2 separate regions of the Homo sapiens genome follow, and region 1 is linked to region 2. The links are contacts of gene promoters, found by promoter capture Hi-C in human tissues and cell types (Jung and others, 2019). All regions are on one chromosome and are shown on one strand. Each heading gives the region's core, a stretch centred on a gene start or on the middle of the fragment in contact. The rest is flanking DNA. Distances are from core to core; before and after follow the strand shown. Region 1 has its middle 34 kb from the start of SOAT2. Region 2 holds the start of ESPL1 (extra spindle pole bodies like 1, separase).

Region 1 (4,937 bases), core at 1,911-4,410, 130 kb before region 2:
ACAGGGTCTCACCATGTTGCCCAAGCTGGTCTTGAACTCCTGGACTCAAGCTATCCTCCTGTCTGGCCTCCCAAAGTGCTGGGATTCCAGGCATGAGCCACCATGCCTGACTGTCTTGACATTCTTGTTGAAAGTCAATTGACTAAACGTGAGGGCTTATTTCTAGATTCTCAAATTTTTTTCCATTGATATACATGTATATCCTGTAGACTACGTTGTCTTGAAACTACTGTAGTTTTGTAGTACATTTTGAAATCAAGAAGTGTGAGTTCTCCAAGTTTGTTCTTTTTTTTCAAGATTGTTTTGGCTATTATGGGTTTCTTGCATTTCCATATGAATTTTGGATCAGCTTGTCAATTTCTGCAAAGAAGTCAACTGGGGTGGTTATAGAGATTGTGTTCAGTCTATAGATCCACTAACATGAAATGTCTTTCCATTTATTTAGATCCTTAATTTCTTTCTTCAATATGTTGTAGTTTTCAGAGTATACATTCTGGCCAGGCGTGGTGGCTCACACCTGTAATCCCAGCACTTTGGGAGGCTGAGGCAGGTGGATTACAAGGTCAGGAGATCGAGACCATCCTGGCCAAGAAGGTGAAACCCTGTCTCTACTAAAAATACAAAAATTAGCTGGGCGTGGTGGCACATGCCTGTAATCCCAGCTACTTGGGAGGCTAAGGCAGGAGAATAGCTTGAACCAGGGAGCTGGAGGTTGCAGTGAGCCGAGATCATGCCACTGCACTGTAGCCCGGCGACAGAGCGAGACTCTGCCTCAAAACAAAACAAAACAAAACAAAAAAACGGAGTATACCTTCTACATTTGTTTTGTTAAATTGTTTCCTATTTTATTCTTTTTGACGTCCTTGTAAATAAAATTATTTTATTAATTTCATTTTTAGATTGTTCGTTTCTAATGTATAGAAACACAACTGATTTGTATGTTGATCTGCTATTTATTTATTTATTTATTAAAAAATAGAGACAAAGTCTCACTATGCTGCCCAGGCTGGTCTTAAACACCTGGACTCAAGTGATCCACCCACTTCCACCTCCCAAAGTGCTGGGATTACAGATGTAAGCCCCCATGCCCAGCTGTATATGAAATAAATTTCATTTTCTTACCTAATTGCCATGGACAGAACCTGCAGTACAGTGTTGAATAGAAGCACAGAGAGTGGACATTCTTGTCTTGTTCTTGATCTCAGAGGGAAAACATTTAGACTTTCATCATTAGGTGTGACATTAGCAGAGGGTTTTTGTAGCTACCCTTTATCAGGTTGAGAAAAATCCCCTTCTATATCTAGTTTGTTGAGGTTTTTTTTTTCTTTTCTTTTTTTTTTATTTTTGAGATAGAGTCTCACTCTGTCGCTCAGGTTGGAGTGCAGTGGCGCGATCTCAGCTCACTGCAACCTCCACCTCCTGGGTTCAAGTGATTCTCCTGCCTCAGCCTCCCAAGTAGCTGGGATTACAGGTGCCCGTCACCATGCCCAGCTAATTTTTTTTTTTTTTTGTATTTTTAGTAGAGACAGGGTTTCACCATCCCAGCCAAGCTGTGTGTATTGAGGTCATCAACAGACCACATTGAAATGTGGGTTTTGTCCTCTGTTCTATTGATATGGCATAATACATTAATTGATTTTGGATGTCAAACCAACCTTGCATTTCTGATACAAATCCTACTTTGTCATGGTATATAACTCTTTTTTTTTTTTTTGAGACAGACTCTCACTCTGTTGCCAGGCTGGTGTATGGTGGCACGATCTTGGCTCACTGCAATCTCCGCCTCCTGGGTCAAGCTATTCTCCTGCCTCAGCCTCCCTAGTAGCTGGGAGTACAGGTGCATGCCACCATGTCCAGCTAATTTTTGTATTTTTAGTAGAGACAGGGTTTCACCGTGTTAGCCATGATGGTCTCAATCTCTTGACCTCATGATCCGCCTGCCTCGGCCTCCCAAAGTGCTAAGATTACAGGTGTAAGCCACTGTGCCTGGCCAACCCTTTTTATATGTTGCTGAATTTGGTTGGCTAGTTCAGGATTTTTGCATCTAAATTCATAAGACATATTGGTATATAATTTTCTTCTGATGTTTTTGTATTGTTTTGGTATCAGGATTAATACTGCCCTCATAGGATGAGTTTAGAAGTATTCTCTCTTCTGTTATTTGGAAGAATTTGTGAAGAATTGGTGTTAAGTCTTTAATGTTTTGTAAAATTCACCATTAAAGCCTTCACTTTTCTTTGTGAAATGCTTTTAGATTACTTATCCAATTACTCTTTCTCTTTTTATTATAGGTCTATTCAGAATTTATATTTCTTCTTGAATCAATTTCAGTAGTTTGTGATTTTCTAGGTATTTGTCTATTTCATCTAAGGTATCTAATTTGTTGGCATAGTCATTTATAGTATACCCTTATAACCTTCCTTATTTTTGAAAGGTCAGTAGTAATGCTCCCTCTTTCATTCCTGAGTTTAGTTAATTTGAATCTTCTCCATTTTTTGTTTCTGTTCTTGTTTTAGAGAGACAGGATCTCACTCAGTCACCCAGGCTGGAGTGCGGTAGTGTGATTGTAGCTCACTGTAACTTTGAACTCCTGGGCTCAAGCAATCCTCCTGCCTCAGCCTCCCAGGTAGCTAGGACTACAGGTACATGTCATCATAACTGGCTAATTTTTTTTATTTTTCATTTTTTTGGAGCGATGGGGTCTCTCTATATATAGATAGATAGATAGATAGATAGATAGATAGATAGATATAGATATATAAATATATATAAATATATATATATATATTTTTTTTTTTTTTTTTTTTTTTTTTTTTTTTTGAGACAGAGTTTCACTCTGTCATCCAGGCTGGAGAGCAGTGATGCGATCTTGGCTCACTGCAACCTCCACAACCTCCACCTCCCAGGTTCAAGTGATCTTCCCACCTCAGCCTCCAGAATAGCTGGGATTGCAAGCAGGTGTCACCACATCCGACTAAATTTTTTTTTTTTGTATTTTTAGTAGAGACAGTGTTTCACCATGTTGGCCAGGCTGGTCTCAAACTCCTGACCTCAAGTGATCCACCTGCCTTGGCCTCCCAAATATATATATATATGTTATTATACATATATATAAATGTCATGAAATATATATACATATACTTTTTTATAGGTATATATATTTTAAATTTTATAATTTAGATATATTTACATATATTTTCTTAATTTAAAAATTTTTAAAAATATGGAACACTTCAAAAATTTGCACATCATCCTTGTGCAGGGGCCATGCTAATCTTCTCTGTATTGTTCCAATTTTAGTATATGTGCTGCCAAAGAGAGCACACTGAGGCTGGTCTTGAACTCCTGGCCTCAAGTGATCTTCCCACCTTGGCCTCCCAGAGGACTGGGATTACAGATGTGAGCCACCATACCCAGCCTTTCTCTGTTTTTTTCTTAATCAGTCTAGCCTTGTTGATCTTTTCAAAGGACCAACTATTCATTTTGTTGATTTTCTTTAGTGTTTTTCTGTTGCCTGTTTCATTAATTTAAACTCTAATATACGTTATTTCCTTCATTCTTCTTGCTTTAGGTTTAGTTTGCTCTTTTTCCAGTGTCTTAGGGTAGAAGTTTAGTTAATTGATTTGAGATCTCTCTACTTTTCAAATATAGGTGTTTACAGTTGTAGATTTTTTTTTTTTTTTGTATATGCTCCCATGAGGTTGAGAAAGTTGCCTTCTACCCCCCAAGTCAGCCAAACTGCAAGGTCTAAGAACCCAGTCCTCCACAATACTGTCCTTACTTCTGATATTAGCTTCAAGTTTGGGGTTTTCCCAAAACCACCCTCCGGTCGAACAATTCACTGAGGAAGTGACAGAACTCAGGCTAGATGTGGTGGCTCATGCCTGTAATCCCAGCACTTTAGGAGGCCGAGGAGGTTTTAGATTTTTCTTCTTCAGGAGTTCGAGACCAGCCTGGCCAACATGGTGAAATCCCATCTCTACTAAAAATACAAAAATTAGCCAGGTATGGTGGCGCATGCCTGTAGTCCCAGCTACTTGGGAGGCTGAGGCAGGAGAATTGCTTGAACCTGGGAGGTGAAGCAGTGAGCCGAGATCGATCGTGCCATTGCACTCCAGCCTGGGCGACAGAGTGTGACTCCATCTCAAAAAAAAAGAAGTGACAGAACTCAGTGAAAGCTAGCTATTATTCTCAAGGTCACAGTTTATTCCAGAGAAAGGATACTCTAAAATCAGCCATGGGAAGGGGCACATAGAGCAGAGTCTAGGAGGATTCCAAATGCAAAGCTTTCATTGTCATCAGGAGATGTTATCCTCTCAGCATCGATGTGTGAAAGTGCACACAGAGTGTTGCAAATCCAGGAAGCTCGTCCTAACTTCAGTGTCCAGAGTTTTTATTGGAGTTTTCATTATACAGGCATGATGGTGGTTGAACTCAGTCTCCCATCTCCCTCCCCTATCCCTGGAAGTTAGGCCAGTATCATGGTGAGATCCATCAAGGAGCCCATCATGAGTCACCTCATTAGCATAAACTATCAGATGTAATCTTAGGGGCCCACTTGAATAACAAAGAAATAAACTTTTTATTAAGAGACAGGGTCTCAGTCTGTTACTCAGGCTGGAGTGCAGTGGTGTGATCAGAGTTTACTGCAGCCTCAAACTTCTGGGCTCAAGTGATCCTCCCACCTCAGCATCCTGAGTAGCTGGGTGCACACCACAGTGCCCAGCTTGAGAAATATTCTTACCACTTGGGGAATTCCATGGGTTTAGAGGCTACCTCTCAGGAGCCAGGGACAATGGCCAGGCCTTTCCTTGGGCAAGGCCAAATTCTTCACACTTTCTATTCCTAGTCAGCTGAATTTTGCTTTTTTGTTTTGTTTTGTTTTGCTTTGTTTTGTTTTGTTTTGTTTGAGACAGAGTGCTGCTCTGTTGCCCAGA
Region 2 (5,107 bases), core at 1,615-4,114:
GTTTTTTTTTTTTTAAGACAGAGTGTCGCTCTATCGCCCAGGCTGGAGTGCAGTGGCGCGATCTCAGTTCACTGCAAACTCTGCCTCCCAGGTTCACGCCATTCTCCTGCCTCAGCCTCCCGAGTAGCTGGGACTACAGGCGCCCACCACTGCGCCCGGCTAATTTTTTTGTATTTTTAGTAGAGACGGGGTTTCACTGTGTTAGCCAGGATGGTCTCAATCTTCTGACCTCGTGATCCACCCGCCTCAGTCTCCCAAAGTGCTGGGATTACAGACCTGAGTCACCGCGCCACACGTTTTTTAATGACTGCCATCATCGTTAGGGTCTTCAAGGCTATCTGAGGCCTTCTTCTATTTGAGGCTAAAAGAACTCCTGGAGGTAGTGAGGCTTGATGTTACTGTCCCCATTTCACTGAGAAGGAACAAATTAGAACTGGCACTAGAACCTGGCTCCTCTGTCCTGTCTCATTTTCAAAGCTCTTTCCATCATCCTGTGCTGCCTCTATAAGTTTGTGATTCACATGAGGAAATAATGTGACTCAAGTTCGTATTAGTCAGCATTTATTGATCTGTTGATACTTAAAGTACTTCTTGTAAGAAGTAGAAAATAAAAAAGAAAAAAGAAAACAAAAGCAAAACAAAAAACAAACAAACAAGAAATAAAAAATAATAAGCTCTCTGCCCTTGAGGAGTTTAGAATTAAGTAGGTATGATAGGCTGGGCATGGCCAGGCACGGTGGCTCATGCTTGTAATCCCGGCATTTTGGGAGGCTGAGGCAGGTGGATCACTTGAGGTCAGGAGTTTGAGACCAGCCTGGCCAACATGGTGAAACTCCGTCCCTACTAAAAATACAAAACATTAGCTGGGCATGGTGATGGGTGCCTGTAATCCCAGCTACTTGGGAGGCTGAGGCAGGAGAATCACTTGAACCCGGAGGCAGAGGTTGCAGTGAGCTGAGATCACGCCATTGCACTCTAGCCTGGGTGACAAGAGCGAAACTCCGTCTCAAAAAAAAAAAAAAAAAAAGGCTGGGCATAGTGGCTCACGCCTGTAATTGTAGCACATTGAGAGGCTAAGGCCGGAGGATCACTTGAGCTCAGGAGTTCAAGACCAACCTGGGCATCATAGTGAGACCTCGTTTCTATCTTAAAAAAAGAAGAAAAAAGTAGGTATAATAAAATACGTTGGGAAAAAGTCCTAGAATGCTTGCTAAACAATAGGTAAATGAACACTGATAGCTAAGGTGTAAGCAAGAGGAATTGAGTACTGTGATGAATAATTTTCTTTTGGGTTTTTTTTGTTTGTTTGTTTGTTTTTTGGTTTTTTTTTTTTTGAGACAGAGTCGTCTCGCTCTGTAGCCCAGGCTGGAGTGCAGTGGCGCGATCTTGGCTCACTGCAAGCTCCGCTTCCCGGGTTCACGCCGTTCTCCTAGCGCAGCCTCCCGAGTAGCTGGGACTACAGGAGCCTGCAACCACGCCCGGCTAATTTTTTGTATTTTTAGTAGAGACGGGGTTTCACCATGTTGGCCAGGATTGTCTCGATCTCCTGACCTCGTGATCCGCCCGCCTCGGTCTCTCAAAGTGCTGGGATTACAGGCGTGAGCCACCGCGCCCGGCCTTTTTTTTGGTTTTCTTTTTTGAGACAGAGTCTTGCTCTGTCACCCAGACTGCAGTACAGTGGCGGGATCTCAGCTCACTGCAACCTCCGCTTCCCGGGTTCAAGCGATCCTCCCAAGTAGCTGGGACTACAGGCCCCCGATGCCACAGCAGCTAATTTTTGTATTTTTAGTAGAGATGGGGTTTCACCATGTTGGTCAGGCTGGTTCTCAAGTGATCCACCCACCTCGGCCTCCTAAAGTGCTGGGATTATAGGCGTGAGCCACCGCGCCCGGCCTTCTTTTCTTTCTTTTTACAAAAATAATCTTCCCTGCTAGATTCTCAACTCATAAAAGAGCTCTATGATGATGGAGAAGGATGAGTTATCCAGTAGAGTTCATCAGCGACAAGCTGATAACCACTTTTGAGCTGAATTCTTTGGTGGAGGAAGGAAAGAGACAGCTGAATCTGTGTTTGGGGAAGTGGTTAGTACTTAAAAACATAAGCCATTAAAGACTGTGAAATATCCCAGGGAATGAATTTCCATAGTTCTTCCTGCTACTCACAACTCCCACCCCACCCCACTACCCTCTCTCCCCCATCGAAGAGCACCAGATCTTGTCTTTCTCATACAACCAATAGAAGGAGTAAGGCTGGAAGGCAGAGAGAGAGCTGGAGGTCGCTACGGGTACTCATTGTAGTTCCCCTAGAAAACCATCTTTAAAATAATTTCGTAGGAAGTTGGGCGTGGCGGTGCACGCCCGTAGTCAGCACTTTGGGAGGCTGAGGTGGGAGGATCACTTAAGCCCGGGAGTTTGAAGCTGCAGTGAGCTGTGATCACGCCACTGCACTCCAGCCTGTGTGTCAGAGCAAGACCCTATCAAAAAAAAAATTCGTAGAAGTCTAAGCCCTTTTTTTCTAGTAACCCAAACCGCGTGAGTTCCTAAGTTCTTTTTGTTATTTCTCTTCTCTTGAAACTTAAACTCTTGCCTGAGCTCTGAAGATAAAGGAGGAAAAGGGGTGGCATTACCGATAGCGACTAAGCGACAGGTAGCTGAGAAACTGAGCTCTGACTGGAAAAAAGGGGGAAACCCGCACCCCCAAGAGGCCCTAACGCGCAGAGCAGCAAGACCCTCCGGGGCGCCGCGGGAGCGCGCAGCGCGGCGGGTAAACTACAACTCCCAGCGTGCCGCGCGCCCGGCGTTGCGCCGCGCCCGCTGATTGGCAGCCGCGGATATTTGAAAGGAGGGTCTGGCGCGGAAAACGAAGGTTACATTTTGGATCCTCGCGGAGTACTGGTCAGGCGGTTAAGTCCTGTACCTAGGAAAGAGGGCGAGCTCTGGGGCGGTAAGGCCGGAAGGGACTCGTGAGCGTGGGTACGTGCTGAAGTGAAGGGGATCCCCAGCGCTGACGCGAGGAGAGGCGTGGGTGGCTCCTGGAGGGAGTGTCGGGAGGCCTTGGGACTGCCCCGGGCCGCTGAAGGGCTGGGCCGAGGCCTCTGGGGTAGCGCGGCGAGTGGTGTGGTAGTGCGGTCGGGGATCTGCCCGGAGGAAGGAAGAGCGGAATCGTCCTTTTATAACGGGAGCACGGCGTCCTGGCGTGGGTTTTCTCCCCGATGAAATTTCTGATGTGATTCTTTGCCTCCTTCCACGACCTTCAGCCCTCTTCCCTTCCTCCAGTTAGCTTCATTAACAATCTTCTCTAATTGGTCTCCTTTTCCCTAGCTCTCCGGTGTCATGAGGAGCTTCAAAAGAGTCAACTTTGGGACTCTGCTAAGCAGCCAGAAGGAGGCTGAAGAGTTGCTGCCCGCCTTGAAGGTGGGGGTGCTGCCTGGCTCGGGATACACCTGGCTTTCCAAACTGAGCTGTTTTGTGTTTGCCTTTTGAAGAGATGGATAAGTAGGCGACCCTCTCTGAGTAACCCTATTTCTAGTTACTTTCTCTACCTCTTTCCTGCCTTTGCTAGCCCCATTCATATCTTTCTCTACTCCTAGGAGTTCCTGTCCAACCCTCCAGCTGGTTTTCCCAGCAGCCGATCTGATGCTGAGAGGAGACAAGCTTGTGATGCCATCCTGAGGGCTTGCAACCAGCAGCTGACTGCTAAGCTAGCTTGCCCTAGGCATCTGGGGAGCCTGCTGGAGCTGGCAGAGCTGGCCTGTGATGGCTACTTAGTGTCTACCCCACAGCGTCCTCCCCTCTACCTGGAACGAATTCTCTTTGTCTTACTGCGGAATGCTGCTGCACAAGGAAGCCCAGAGGCCACACTCCGCCTTGCTCAGCCCCTCCATGCCTGCTTGGTGCAGTGCTCTCGCGAGGCTGCTCCCCAGGACTATGAGGCCGTGGCTCGGGGCAGCTTTTCTCTGCTTTGGAAGGGGGCAGAAGCCCTGTTGGAACGGCGAGCTGCATTTGCAGCTCGGCTGAAGGCCTTGAGCTTCCTAGTACTCTTGGAGGATGAAAGTACCCCTTGTGAGGTTCCTCACTTTGCTTCTCCAACAGCCTGTCGAGCGGTAGCTGCCCATCAGCTATTTGATGCCAGTGGCCATGGTCTAAATGAAGCAGATGCTGATTTCCTAGATGACCTGCTCTCCAGGCACGTGATCAGAGCCTTGGTGGGTGAGAGAGGGAGCTCTTCTGGGCTTCTTTCTCCCCAGAGGGCCCTCTGCCTCTTGGAGCTCACCTTGGAACACTGCCGTCGCTTTTGCTGGAGCCGCCACCATGACAAAGCCATCAGCGCAGTGGAGAAGGCTCACAGTTACCTAAGGAACACCAATCTAGCCCCTAGCCTTCAGCTATGTCAGCTGGGGGTTAAGCTGCTGCAGGTTGGGGAGGAAGGACCTCAGGCAGTGGCCAAGCTTCTGATCAAGGCATCAGCTGTCCTGAGCAAGAGTATGGAGGCACCATCACCCCCACTTCGGGCATTGTATGAGAGCTGCCAGTTCTTCCTTTCAGGCCTGGAACGAGGCACCAAGAGGCGCTATAGACTTGATGCCATTCTGAGCCTCTTTGCTTTTCTTGGAGGGTACTGCTCTCTTCTGCAGCAGCTGCGGGATGATGGTGTGAGTTAAGGACCTGGAGGTAGGGTGGGGACGTGGTCTGTGGACTCACTACCAGCCTAGGGTATTTGGCAAGATCTGGAGGTCCTGGCTCCCTCCTTGTTAAGCTGCTCTCTGGACAGTGCCTAGCGAGCCAGCAAACAGCCTAGTCTATCCTGAGAGGGCAGTGGCCCTTCTGGATGTCCTTCCTCGTGCTCCCTGGGCTCTGTCAGCTCTCCAGGACTCCGGGTCAGTCTTCAGCTTGGAGCCCTCTTTATCTCTACTCCTCATACCAACCTTCCGCTTCCTTCCTCAGGTGTATGGGGGCTCCTCCAAGCAACAGCAGTCTTTTCTTCAGATGTACTTTCAGGGACTTCACCTCTACACTGTGGTGGTTTATGACTTTGCCCAAGGCTGTCAGGTACTGTCTGGGAATCAAGGTACCTGGACTAGGCTCATAGGGTTTGGGGTTGCTCCACT

Evidence for each region. The method cuts DNA at HindIII sites, captures the fragments that hold promoters and counts their contacts. A contact is called where the count stands out against the background at its distance.
Region 1: a contact is called between a fragment that was not itself captured here and the fragment with the promoter of ESPL1 in region 2, in 2 of the 25 tissues and cell types used here (mesenchymal stem cells and neural progenitor cells).

Annotation. Positions count from the first base shown.
Region 1 is chr12:53,135,328-53,140,264 of GRCh38, forward strand. It overlaps the pseudogene RNU6-333P. Among named protein-coding and RNA genes, the nearest start is that of SOAT2, 34 kb to the left of the region's middle. The HindIII fragment of the contact is 5,451 bases long and covers 436-4,937 here.
Region 2 is chr12:53,265,435-53,270,541 of GRCh38, forward strand. It overlaps ESPL1 (extra spindle pole bodies like 1, separase), which reads left to right and starts at 2,865. Exons shown (of 31, transcript NM_012291.5): 1 at 2,865-2,943; 2 at 3,321-3,413; 3 at 3,590-4,651; 4 at 4,944-5,048. The coding sequence starts at 3,333. RefSeq lists enhancers at 2,802-3,171, 3,232-3,311. The HindIII fragment of the contact is 10,197 bases long and covers 1-4,050 here.